3 separate regions of the Homo sapiens genome follow, and all the other regions are linked to region 1. Evidence: promoter capture Hi-C in 16 types of primary human blood cells and fetal thymus (Javierre and others, 2016). All regions are on one chromosome and are shown on one strand. Each heading gives the region's core, a stretch centred on a gene start or on the middle of the fragment in contact. The rest is flanking DNA. Distances are from core to core; before and after follow the strand shown.

What was found. Contacts are between HindIII fragments. The CHiCAGO score rates a contact against its expected background, and 5 or more counts as called.
Region 2: a fragment that was not itself captured here is called in contact with the fragment with the promoter of MFAP1 in region 1 in 1 of 17 cell types (endothelial precursors); the score reaches 5.7 in endothelial precursors.
Region 3: a contact is called between a fragment that was not itself captured here and the fragment with the promoter of MFAP1 in region 1, in 1 of 17 cell types (endothelial precursors). The highest score is 5.5, in endothelial precursors.

Annotation. Positions count from the first base shown.
Region 1 is chr15:43,822,935-43,826,693 of GRCh38, forward strand. MFAP1 (microfibril associated protein 1) reads right to left here and starts at 1,756. Exons shown (of 9, transcript NM_005926.3): 1 at 1,557-1,756. The coding sequence starts at 1,635. RefSeq lists enhancers at 1,560-1,819, 1,572-2,203. The HindIII fragment of the contact is 28,469 bases long and covers 1-3,759 here.
Region 2 is chr15:44,220,479-44,224,414 of GRCh38, forward strand. No RefSeq gene overlaps it. Among named protein-coding and RNA genes, the nearest start is that of FRMD5, 27 kb to the left of the region's middle. The HindIII fragment of the contact is 3,954 bases long and covers 347-3,936 here.
Region 3 is chr15:44,273,020-44,277,175 of GRCh38, forward strand. No RefSeq gene overlaps it. Among named protein-coding and RNA genes, the nearest start is that of GOLM2, 14 kb to the right of the region's middle. The HindIII fragment of the contact is 897 bases long and covers 2,240-3,136 here.

The DNA of each region.
Region 1 (3,759 bases), core at 506-3,005:
TTCAAGTGATTCTCCTGCCTCAGCCTACCGAGTAGCTGGGATTACAGGCGCCTGCCACCACACCTGGCTAATTTTTGTATTTTTAGTAGAGACGGTTTCACCACGTTGGCCAGGTTGGTCTCGAACTCTTGACCTCAGGTGATCCACCAGCCTCAGCCTCCCAAAGTGCTGGGATTACAGGCGTGAGCCACCGCGCCGGGCCCTAATTTTTATTTTTGCAGAGATTGGCGGGGGTGGGGGGTGGTCTCGCTATGTTGCCCAAGCTGGTCTTGAACTCCTGGCCTCAAGCGATCCTCCTGCCTCAGCCTCCCGAAGTGCTGAGATTACAGGTGTAAGCCACTGTGCTCCACAAATTCTTATGTTCTTATAACTTACTTTGGGGAGCAATTGGCAACAGGTACTAAATAAAGCTAGTATTGGCTAGAGAATGACAATTGCAGAACTTTCTTTTTTTTTTTTTGAGAGAGTGTCTCACACTGTGGCCCAGGCTGGAGTGCAATGGTGCGATCTCTGCTCACTGCGACCTCCACCTCCCGGGTTCAAGCAATTCTCCTGCCTCAGATTCCCAAGTAGCTGGGATTACAGGTACCCACCACCATGCATGGCTAATTTTTTGTATTTTTAGTAGAGACGGGGTTTCGCCATGATCGCCAGGCTGTCTTGAACTCCTGACCTCAGGTGTTCAGCCCGCCTCAGCCTCCCAAAGTGCTGGGTTTATGGGCATAAGACACCGTGCCTGGCCGCAGCACTTTTTTGAACAAGGGGACAACCACCTGCCTCTCAGTAGGGAATAAAGTGTGGATTACAGTTTATTTTATACAATGGAATTCATAAGCTGTTAAGATGAATGAATTAGATGTATAGGGATCCAAAGATAATTCTCAAAAGCCATGTTGAGACTAGATACGGCGGCATCTACTCGGGAGGCTGAGGCAGGAGGACAGCCTGAGCCCCAGGAATTCGAGTCCAGCCTGGGCAGCATAAGCAGACTTCTATGGACAGCAAAAGAGGGACTGTATCCCGCACAATGCCCTGCCAACAGGCATTCTCTATCTATCTATCTAGTCTGATATTATATACATATTCTGATATATACTTAAGTTCCTAATTATTAGATTAATAATATACTTAAGTTCCTAAGTAATTACACTAATAATACATAAATTCTTGTAATTATATGTAATTAGTGATATTATATTCTAATCATAATATATATTAGACTAATACATATATTCTAGCATATATATATTAGACATATATATTCTGATATATACTTAAGTTCCTAATGTTTTTATATGTGTAATATATATTATATATATGTAACATTAGTCTAAGGAATTTGTGGAGGCTAACAGAAGAGAGGTGCTTGCTGAATACGAGAGCAGGCCACAGGAACAAGATCGGATGCAAGTGGGTGGGGGTGGAAAGATCGAAGAATCTGGCAGCCAGATCTCAAGAGCTGGCGGGGTTGGAGTGGTCTGTCCGGGAGAGGTCTGGAGGTTGCTGGGGCCGGAAGGGGTTAAAATTCGACTGGGAAGAGGGTGTTAGCACCGTACCTTTCTCATTGCGAACTGGGACGGCCCCAGCCGTAGACTGAATGGGCGGTTGCTTCATGAGAGCGCTTGGGACCGACATGTTGATGGCAGCGACGGTGATTCCCGAAACTTGACTAATTCCAAACAGTGAACACCAGCAACGTCAACGAAGAGAAGAAATTCCTTCCACCTGAGTCCGCGAACACAGCTGCGCGACTGATAGAGAAACTACTTACGGCTGAGCTAGATAAACCGGAAATACGTGACGAGAGGATTGTGGGATGGTGGACGACGTTTGGGCGCCCACAGCTAGGAAGTCGAGTCGGTTTCTGCGCATGCTCATTGGCTGCCCGCATGTCCTCTACGTCGCAGAATTTGGAAGCAGCTTTTGGCGGGAAATTTTGCTTCCTTTGGGCTTTGCTGTTAGGACTCTGCGGTGAGGAAGGTTCGAATGAAAGATTTTACGTGTTAGCTTGGTTTGAAGCCAAGAACGGTATAGTGAATAAGAAACTCAGGCGACAGTGAGTTACTGTTTGAATGGCTTGTTGAAAGCTCAGAAGAAGTAGAGTTTGATGGAATAAAAATCTTGCCAGTAGTATCCGATTAGCTTAGTTCATAAGGCCAGGGTGGGCTGTGGTGCGGTATTTGGTTTCACAGGGCAGGTGGTGCTGATTTAGGCCAGTGACCGAAAAAAAAAAAAAAAAAACTCCCGAGGTGCCTGGGACATTGCCCACCTGAAATCCCAAAACTCCACTTTTTTAGGCTTTCAGGTTTTTCCAGTTTCTGGAAACTACCTATTAAAATACATTCCTGGCTAGAAAATGTTTGTATTTAAATATCTAAGTAATTATTATTCTTTTGAGACTGTCTTTTTCTGTCACCCAGGCTGGAGTGCAGTGGCTCGATCTCAGCTCACTGCAGTCTCCACCTCCCGGGTTTAAGCAATTCTCGTGCCTCAGCCTTCTGATTAGCTGGGATTACAGGCGCCTGCCACCACTCCCTGCTGATTTTTGTATTTTTAGTAGAGACGAGGTTTCACCATGTTGGCCAGGCTTAAGTGATCCGCCCACTCCGGCCTCCCACAGTGCTGAGTGTTGGCGTGGGCCACCACTCCCGGCTAATTTTTGTATTTTTAGTAGAGGCAGGGTTTCGCCATGTTGCCCAGGCTGGTCTTGAACTCCTGACCTCAGATGATCCACCTACCTCGGCCTCCCCAAAGTGCTGGGATTACAGAGGTGAGCCACCGCACCCGGCCTATTTAAGAACTCTTTAAGGACTTACAGGATAATAACAGAAGCAGCTCCAATTTACAAGCTGAGTCGTGTTAAAAAATATATATAATATTGGCTAATTGGAAAGTCAGGACACATTTCACAGTAGAAAGGACTTTATAACTGCGGGGGAGACAAGGGACAGTAGGAACAAAGTCTTAAAGTCCAGAAACAGTATGTTTTATACAGGACACCATGAAAAGTTTGGTTTTATCAGTAATTTTTGAGTCATGAGGGGCCTTGAAGTTGCTATTAATATGATTAACCCAAATTACTTCACCTGTGTTCTACAATTGGGCCTTGAGTGGGAGAAGAAATGAAACTGGACAAATCTCAGGCAAGGAACAGTGTGGGACCCAACTAAGCAACCAAGGAAACAGTTTTGGGCTAGAAGGAACCTTAAAGAGAATAGCCAGAATCTTATTTTATTATTTATAGAAGAGGGTCTTGCTCTGTCGCTCAGGCTGGAGTTCCGCGCAATCACGGCTCACTGTGGCCTCATCCTTCTAGGTTCAAGCCATTTTCCCACCCCTGCCTTCTGAGTAGCTGGGACTACAGACGTACAACACCACGCTGGGCTAATTTTTGTATTTTTTATAGAGATGGGGTCTCACTATGTTGCCCAGGCTGGTTTGGAACTCCTGGGCCCAAGTGATCCACTCCTCTCGGCCTCTCAAAGTGTTGGGATTACAGGCGTTAGCCACCGCTCCCGGCCTGTTAGTGTTTTTCAAAGCGACATCCCAGTACCACCAGAATCAAAATCACCAGTCAAAGGTAAAAATGTCAGTTCAGCCCCAGGACATCCCTAAAGAATTTGAGTCTAGGGCTTTAAGACAGCATTTTTTTTTTTTTGAGACGGAGTCTCACTCTTGTTGCCCAGACTGGAGTGCAATGGCGCGATCTCAGCTCACTGCAACCTCTGCCCCCTGGGTTCAAGCAATTCTGCCTCAGCC
Region 2 (3,936 bases), core at 1,074-3,573, 400 kb after region 1:
AAGTTTAACCATTTGAATTTTTTTCTTCATTAGTAAAATGTGGGAGGTGAATTTGATGACACTTAAATTACAATTAATGCTCTATATTGTCCCATTAAACTTTTCCCAACCTTCTTTTGTCAGGTATAGTAATCAATGTGTATGTGACTCACATAATAGAAAAATGAAAACCTTTTAGTAATGAGGTTAAATCAAAACAGGGTTATTCTAACCTGATAGTTCTTAAACATAGCTGCACATTAGAATCCATCTGGGGAGCTTTAAAAATTCCACTTTCTGATCCTCACCCCAGACCAATTATATTAGACTCTCTGGGGGTGGGTCTCGGCAATAGGCATCTTTTAAAAGCTTCTCAAATGATTCCAAAGTGCAACTAAGATTGAGAATTACTGCCAGTTAAATTATTGCCTGACCTAAAAAACATCTCCTTTACAGAGCCTAAAATTCCACTACAAAATCATTGTCACTGGGGTTAATGACTGTCCTTTCTCAACTGTAAATATGCGTAAAGATTAAATTAACCAAATGCTTTGATTCAAATTAGCTTAGTAAGAGCACTTGCTTCCTAACGCCTAGCTAAGTTGAGCCTTTTGAAGAGGTTGAAAGTTTAAACAGAGTTAGAAATGGCCGAGTGTGGTGGCTCATACCTGTAATTCCAGCACTTTAGGAGGCCAAGGTGGGCGAATCACTTGAGGTCAGGAGTTTGAGACAAGCCTGGCCAACATGGTGAAACCCTGTATCTACCAAAAATACAAAAAAATTAGCCAGATCTGGTGATGTGCACCTGTAGTCCCAGCTACTGAGGAGTCTGAGGAAGGAGAATTGCTTGAACCTGGGAGATGGAGGTTGCAGAAGGCCGAGGTCGTGCCATTACACTCCAGCCTGGGCAACAAGAGCAAAATTCTGCCTCAAAAACAAAAAACAGAGTTAGAAAAAAAGACACCTCATTTTGGAGTACACTGTGTCATGAAATACTTTCAGAGAAATAAGTTCTGAATAGACTGCAAAAAGGAAAGCAACAAGCAATTAGAAACCATCATGTGGACACCAGGAATGTGAATACAGAAGAGGATGAACCTGAACACAAAGGGGCAGGAAGGTGAACCAAAGACTAATTGCAACTACTTCAAGTTTGTCTAAAAATGTTCCTTAGTCCAATTCATAATGTAAACATTCCTAATAATATCAAGTCTTTAAGGTTGTATGGAGAAGGCGTCTAGATATGTAGAGTATCTTAGTATTTTTTCTATGTATTATTTAATTGATTAAACATTTACTGTACTTACTTGTTATTTTATGTAACATATTTAATCCTTACAGCCTCATGAAGTAAACAGTATTATCTCCATTTTATAGATAAGAAAACCGAGTAGGTTTGAAGGAAATGGGATCAACTTTGCTTTGTCACACTGAAAAGAAACTTAATCATGTCTCTATTTGGTATCTGAAAGAAGAGGTGTGTGTGTGTGTGTGTGTGTGTGTGTGTGTGTGCACGCATGTGTATCTCACAGCTGTCCTGAATAATTATGCTTCATAACTAGCTATTTTCCTTAAATATCTGCTCATCTGTTCTTTCCTTTTCTTTTTTGAGATGGAGTTTCACTCTTGTTGCTCAGGCTGGAGTGCAATGGCACGATCTTGGCTCACTGCAACCTCCGTCTCCTGGGTTCAAGCGATTCTCCTGCCTCAGCCTCCTGAGTAGCTGGGACTACAAGCATGCGCCACTATGCCCGGCTAATTTTTTATATTTTTTTAGTAGAGACAGGGTTTCACCATGTTGGCCAGGCTAGTCTCGAAATCCTGGCCTCAAGTGATCCACCTACCTCGGCCCCCCAAAGTGCTGAGATTACAGGCATGAGCCATTGCACCCGGCCATGGCCTGTTTTCTTTAATCGTGCTTATTCATACCCACACACACTTCCCATTTTGATGATAAATGGCTATCTTGAAAATTTTAAAAATTACTAAGCATAAAAGTAATCTGACACAAGATTACCAAATATTACACCTAGACAGATTTTCTAACCTCACAAAAAATTAAAAGCATAACCTGTTGTTTTATGAAGTAAGGTAAGGGAGAGATTTTATTTGCATACATTGAAACATTAGCAACCAAAGCAGGAGGCAACTAATGAGAAAGAATGAGCTTCCTTTCTTGAACTGAAAGGAATGTCATTTCCACCAGTACTTAACAAGTGACGTTTATAGAGAAGTTTCCTGTAAAATGAGACTGGCAGTAGTTTTAGTTACAGTGTTTTCTTCCTGATACAGGATCTTCAGGGACCACTAGAGAAGAAATTATTATTTGCTCTGGACTTAGTGAAACCTGGAATCACAGACCTGAGGTCACTTGGAGAAGAATGCCCAGGTATTTAAAAGTGTTTGTTCCCCCTGCTACTCAGGAGGCTGGGGCAGGAGAATCGCTTGAACCTGGGAGGCGAAGGTTGCAGTGAGCTGAGATCACGCCGCTGCACTCCAGCCTGGGTGACAGAGCGAGACTCTGTCTCAAAAAAAGAAAAGTGTTTGATCCATGGCCGGGCAGGGTGGCTCACACCTGTAATCCCAGAACTTTGGGAGGCTGAGGTGGGTGGATAACCTGAGATCAGGAGTTTGAGACCGGCCTGCCCAAGATGGCAAAACTCTGTCTCTACTAAAAATACAAAAATTAGGCCAGGCGCAGTGGCTCACACCTGTAATCCCAGCACTTTGGGAGGCTGAGGTGGGCAGATCACCTGAGGTCAGGAGTTCGAAACCAGCCAGGTCAACATGGAGAAACCCTACTGAAAAAATACAAAATTAGCTGGGCATGGTAGCACATGCCTCTAATCCCAGCTACTAGGGATGGTGAGGCAGGAGAATCTCTTGAACCTGGGAGGCGGAGGTTGCGGTGAGCCAGGATGGCGCCATTGTACTACAGCCTGGGCAAAAGAGGGAAACTCTGTCTCAAAAAAAAAAAAAAAAAAGTAGCCAGGCATGGTGGCATGTGCCTGTAATCCCAGCTACTCGGGAGGCTGAGGCAGGAGAATCGCTTGAATCTGGGAGGCGGAGTTTGCAGTGAGCTGAGATCACACCACTGCATTCCAGCCTGGGTGACAGAACGAGTCTCCATCTCAAAAAAAAAAATAAAAGTGTTTGTTCCTGATGACTGTAGTGTCTTGGAGTTTATACTTATGAGCCAATTAATTTACTTCAGTTCAAAAAACATTTATTAATGACACTGGAAACAAACACTTGTACTCGACCTTGTAGGGGATGCAAATATCTAAGGGTCTAAGTTACCACAGTCTCTTGCCTGAATAATTGCAAACAACAAATAAAACCACCTCCCACCAAAATAAACAAATAACAAACTCTTGTGTCTCAGATACATTCATATTACAGCAAACATGTGCTTTTATTTTTTTATTTTTATTTTTTTGAGACAGAGTCTCACGCTGTCGCCCAGGCTGGAGTTCAGTGGCACCATCTCAGCTCACTGCAACCTTTGCCTCCCGGGTTCAAGTGATTCTCCTGCCTATTCTGTTGGCCAGGATGGTCTCTATCTCTTGATCTGTGATCCACCCACCTCGGCCTCCAAAAGTGCTGGGATTACAGACTGGAGCCCCGCGCCAAGCCAACATGTGCTTTTACAAACATAATTCTGACCTCCTCATTTCCCTTATTAAAACCTCCAATTACTTCCTACTGCCCCTAGGATAAAATCATAAATTCTTAGGACAGCGTGATTCAGCTGCTGTCTGCTTCTACAGGCTCACATGGTGCCACTTTCCTCCTCATTTATTAAATTCCCACAACCTTGACTTTTTTCAGTACTAAGAACATGTCATTATTTCTAAAGTCTTAGCTTTCTTAGATACTGTTCCTGTCCTGTTTCTGTCCTCTTTCAGTTCCCTTCCCATTTTCATCTTTTTGGTTCCTACTTTTTTTTATTGTTTA
Region 3 (4,156 bases), core at 1,438-3,937, 450 kb after region 1:
AAAAAAAAAAAAAAAAAAAGGAAAAAGGAAAAAGTCTGGAAAGCTCTATGCTAGAATGTTAACTGTGGTTTTACTTTGGTGGATGAAACTGTTGGTGATTTTCACTGTTTGTTTTCCCATTCTGACTATCTGATTTTTTTTTTTTTTGCTCTGAGCATGTTCATAAGCATTAAAAAACATTAAATTATTTCCACTTTTAAAAAACACCCCCAAATTCATACATTCATACGAATTCAGACAATTCAACATGAAAAATTCATCTATTTTAGGATTTTCTTTATATGTGATAGAAAGACCAAGGATTAGTCAAATACCACCCAGAGGAAATAAATCATGTTCCTTTATCAAACATGATATATGTCAGCCACAGTGCTAAATGGTGGAAAGATAAGGACATAGTCCTTATCTTTAGGGATCTCACAATCTATAACAAGGTGACATATGTATAAACTAAATAGCAGTAATACACTTATAGTAAGTGTAATACCAAACATGTAAATTAGGTGTAGTAGAGGCACAAAGATGAAATTGTTTTGTAAGAGACATTCAAATAGTATCTTAAAAGACTTAGGAGAATGCAAAGGGAGTGCATTCTAGCAAAGAGAAACAGAGTGTTCCAAGGCATGGAGGCATGAAATAGCACAGTATGTACTGAGTGTGGTCTAGCTACATATCATTTGAAATAACTTACCTGGCTATGGAAATTAACAGATTTGCTTTAAAATATCCGTAGTTTGTTTGTTTGTTTGGTTGGTTTTTTTGAGACAGGGTCTTGCTCTGTCGCCCGGGCTGGAGAGCAGTGGTGTAATCACAACTCACTGCAGCCTTGACCTCCTGGGCTCAAGCGATCCTCCCACCTCAGCCTCCTGAGTACGTGGGACTACGGGCACATGACACCATGCCTGGCTAATTAAAAAAAAAAAATTTTTTTTTCTTTTTTTGAGACAGAGTATTTTGCTCGTCAGCCAGGCTGGAGTGCAACAGTGCAATCTCAGCTCACTGCAACCTCCACCTCCTGGGTTCAAGCAATTCTCCTGCCTCAGCCTCCAGAGTAGCTGGGATTATAGGCGCCTGCCACCACGCCCAGCTAATTTTTTTTTGTATTTTGAGATGGGGTTTCACCATGTTGTTCAGGCTGGTCTTGAACTCCTGACCTCAGGTGATCCACCCGCCTTGGCCTCCCAAAGTTGTTTTTTGTTTTTGTTTTTGTTTTTGAGATGGAGTCTTGTTCTGTCACCAGGCTGGAGTGCAGTTGCGCCATCTCAGCTCACTGCAACCTCTGCCTCCGGGGTTCAAGAGATTCCCCTTCCTCAGTCTCCCAAGTAGCTGGGATTACAGGCACGCACCACTACGCCTGGCTAATTTTTTGTATTTTAGTAGAGATGGTGTTTCACCATGTTGGCCAAGACGGTCTCGATCTCCTGAACTTGTGATCCTCCCGCCTTGGACTCCCAAAGTGCTAGGATTACAGGCATGAGCCACCATGCCCGGCCAAAAAAAAAATTTTTTTTAATAGAGATGGGGTCTCACTGTGTTGCCCAGGCTAGTCTTGAACTCCTGGCCTCAAATGATCCTCCCGCCTCAACCTCCCAAAGTGTTGGCATTACAGGCATGAACCACTGTGCCCAGTTAAATATCAGTAATTTGTTTTATTTTCATTTTTTGAGACATGGTCTCACTCCCATCGCCAAAGCTGGAGTACAGTGGTGTGATCATGGCTCACTGCAGCCTCATCCTCTTGCTCAAATGATCCTCCCACCTCAGCCTCCCAAGTAGCTGGGACCATAGGCATGGGCCACCATGTCCAGCAAATTTTTGTATATTTTGTAGAGATGGGTTTTACTATGTTGCTCAGGCTGGTCTCCTGGGTTCAAGCAATCTGCCTGCTTTGGAGTAATTTTTAATATGGATTTAAAATAATCCCATCAATACTCAGATGCCAAAAGAAAGCATTGTGCACACCAATATGTTAATAAGGATCAGTATTTCAAAGTTACTACATCGTCCTGCTACAAAATATGATGTTTTGCAATCGCTGCCTTCTGTTCTGGCCTTGGATGCAATGGGCTGCTTCTCTGGGATACCGACAAATCAAAACATAGCACCTGAACAGGAGCATGAAGTGAGCTCAATCCTTAATGGTGTTTACTTGATAGATATCAGGAATTGCACTACTGAAAACAACACAAACAGCATGCTGAAACTAACAGATTCAGTGAAAAACTATGTAGGTTAAAAAAGCTTCTACTTAAAGCTCAGACAATGGATACACACGAGGATCTGCTTAAAAAGCAGTAGATGACACATGACCAGCTCTGCTCACAGCTGTGTCTTCTGCCTGAAAGTCAGCACAGGAGGATTTATTGTGATGGCACACTAGCATCTGCAGCAGGTGCTGAGGAATGAAAAAAAAAAAAACTACATAAATAAAGGTTCGGAAAATTACAAGGTGGTCATCTGAAACTAGCCCCACATAAAGTCCCACTGCATCAAATGGGGCCATATTTAATTGGGTCACTCTTCAGAACAATATCTAGCAGAGAAAGCCACCATGAGCTAGAAGATTAGATGAACTGCAGGGCAGAGAACAAAAAATAGGGCAGAAACCTTGGGTTTTCTGCCAAGTGTAGAAAAAATACATTGCAGCAGACTGTGCAGAGGCATGACCATCTTTTCATTGCTTGCCAAAAATCTAAGTATGGTTTTTAAAAATTACAATGGAAATAGAAGCAAATGTTAAGGAACAAGAACCACTATATTTTGAAAAGATAGGTGAGAAGTGATGACTAATCAGTCAAAAAATATTTGAATCCCTACTATGTGCCCATTAATTCACTCAGTACATATCTGCTTAATATCATTAACTGCCAGCAGAGAAAATAAAAGTGAAAAATCTGTGCTTTCCAGAGTTTACAGCTAACTGGAGAGTCAAGTCAAACCAATGTGAAAGACTTGAGTAGCAGTGCAAGGCAGTATTATACTCTGATTATTGCCAAAATGATGCAGACAATAAATGTAGATAATATACGCAATGATGTAGACAATAATTGCAAAATTCAGATGAAAAATATGTGAGCTGAGCTGGAATTTGGAAGAAGCTCTCAGAGGGTGAGGATTTATGCTGGATCTTGAAGAAAGCTTGTATTCTCATCCTATGTCTGCCTTTGACTGGTAGAATAGAATAATTTTTTTTTTTGAGACCGAGTCTTGCTCTGTCACCAGGCTGGAGTGCAGTGGCACAATCTCAGCTCACTGCAACCTCTGCCTCCTGGGTTCAAGCGATTCTCCTGCTTCAGGCTCCTGAGTAGCTGGGACTACAGGCGCGCACCACCATGCCCAGCTAATTTTTGTATTTTTAGTAGAGACAGGGTTTCACCATGTTGGCCAGGATGGTCTCGATATCTTGACCTCCTGATCCACCTGCCTCAGCCTCCCAAAGTGCTGGGATTACAGGCGTGAGCCACCACGCCTGGCCAAATAGAATAATTTTAAATCGCAATACTTCTCTGGATTTTTATCTTCATCTATTAAATAGGAGTTTTAGACTAGGTAATCTCTAAATTCCCTTCCTGTTCTAAAATTCCATAATTCAAGGATATAAAGAAAAAAAGAATGAAATGAATAAGAGAGTATTTTAAAAATGTTTTAGGCTGGGCACGATGGCTCACGCCTGTAAATCCCAATGCTTTGGGAGGCCGAGGCGGGAGGACTGCTTGAGCCCAGGAGTTTGAGACCAGCCTGGGCAACACAGAAAGACACCGTCTCTACAAAAAATTTAAAAATTAGCCAGGTGTGGTTGTGTGTGTCTGTAGTCCCCACCTACTTGGGAGGCTGAAGCAGGAGTATTGCTTGAGCCAGGGAGGTCGAGGTTGCCGTGAGCCATGATTGTGTCACTGATCTCCAGCCTGGGTGACAGAGTGAGACACTGTCTCAAAAAAAAAGTTTCAGATAAATGGAAAAGAAAGAAGTGAGCAGGCATTGGAGAAGGGGAAAAAAAAGCCTAATGGTGTGGTGTCAAAACAAAATCACAGCCTACCTCATACTATCTTATAATGTGGTCCTGCAGAAAAACATCTACCAGCTGGGTGTGGTGGCTCACGCCTGTAATTCCAAAACTTTGGGAGGCCAAGGCGGGTGGATCACGATGTTGGGAGAT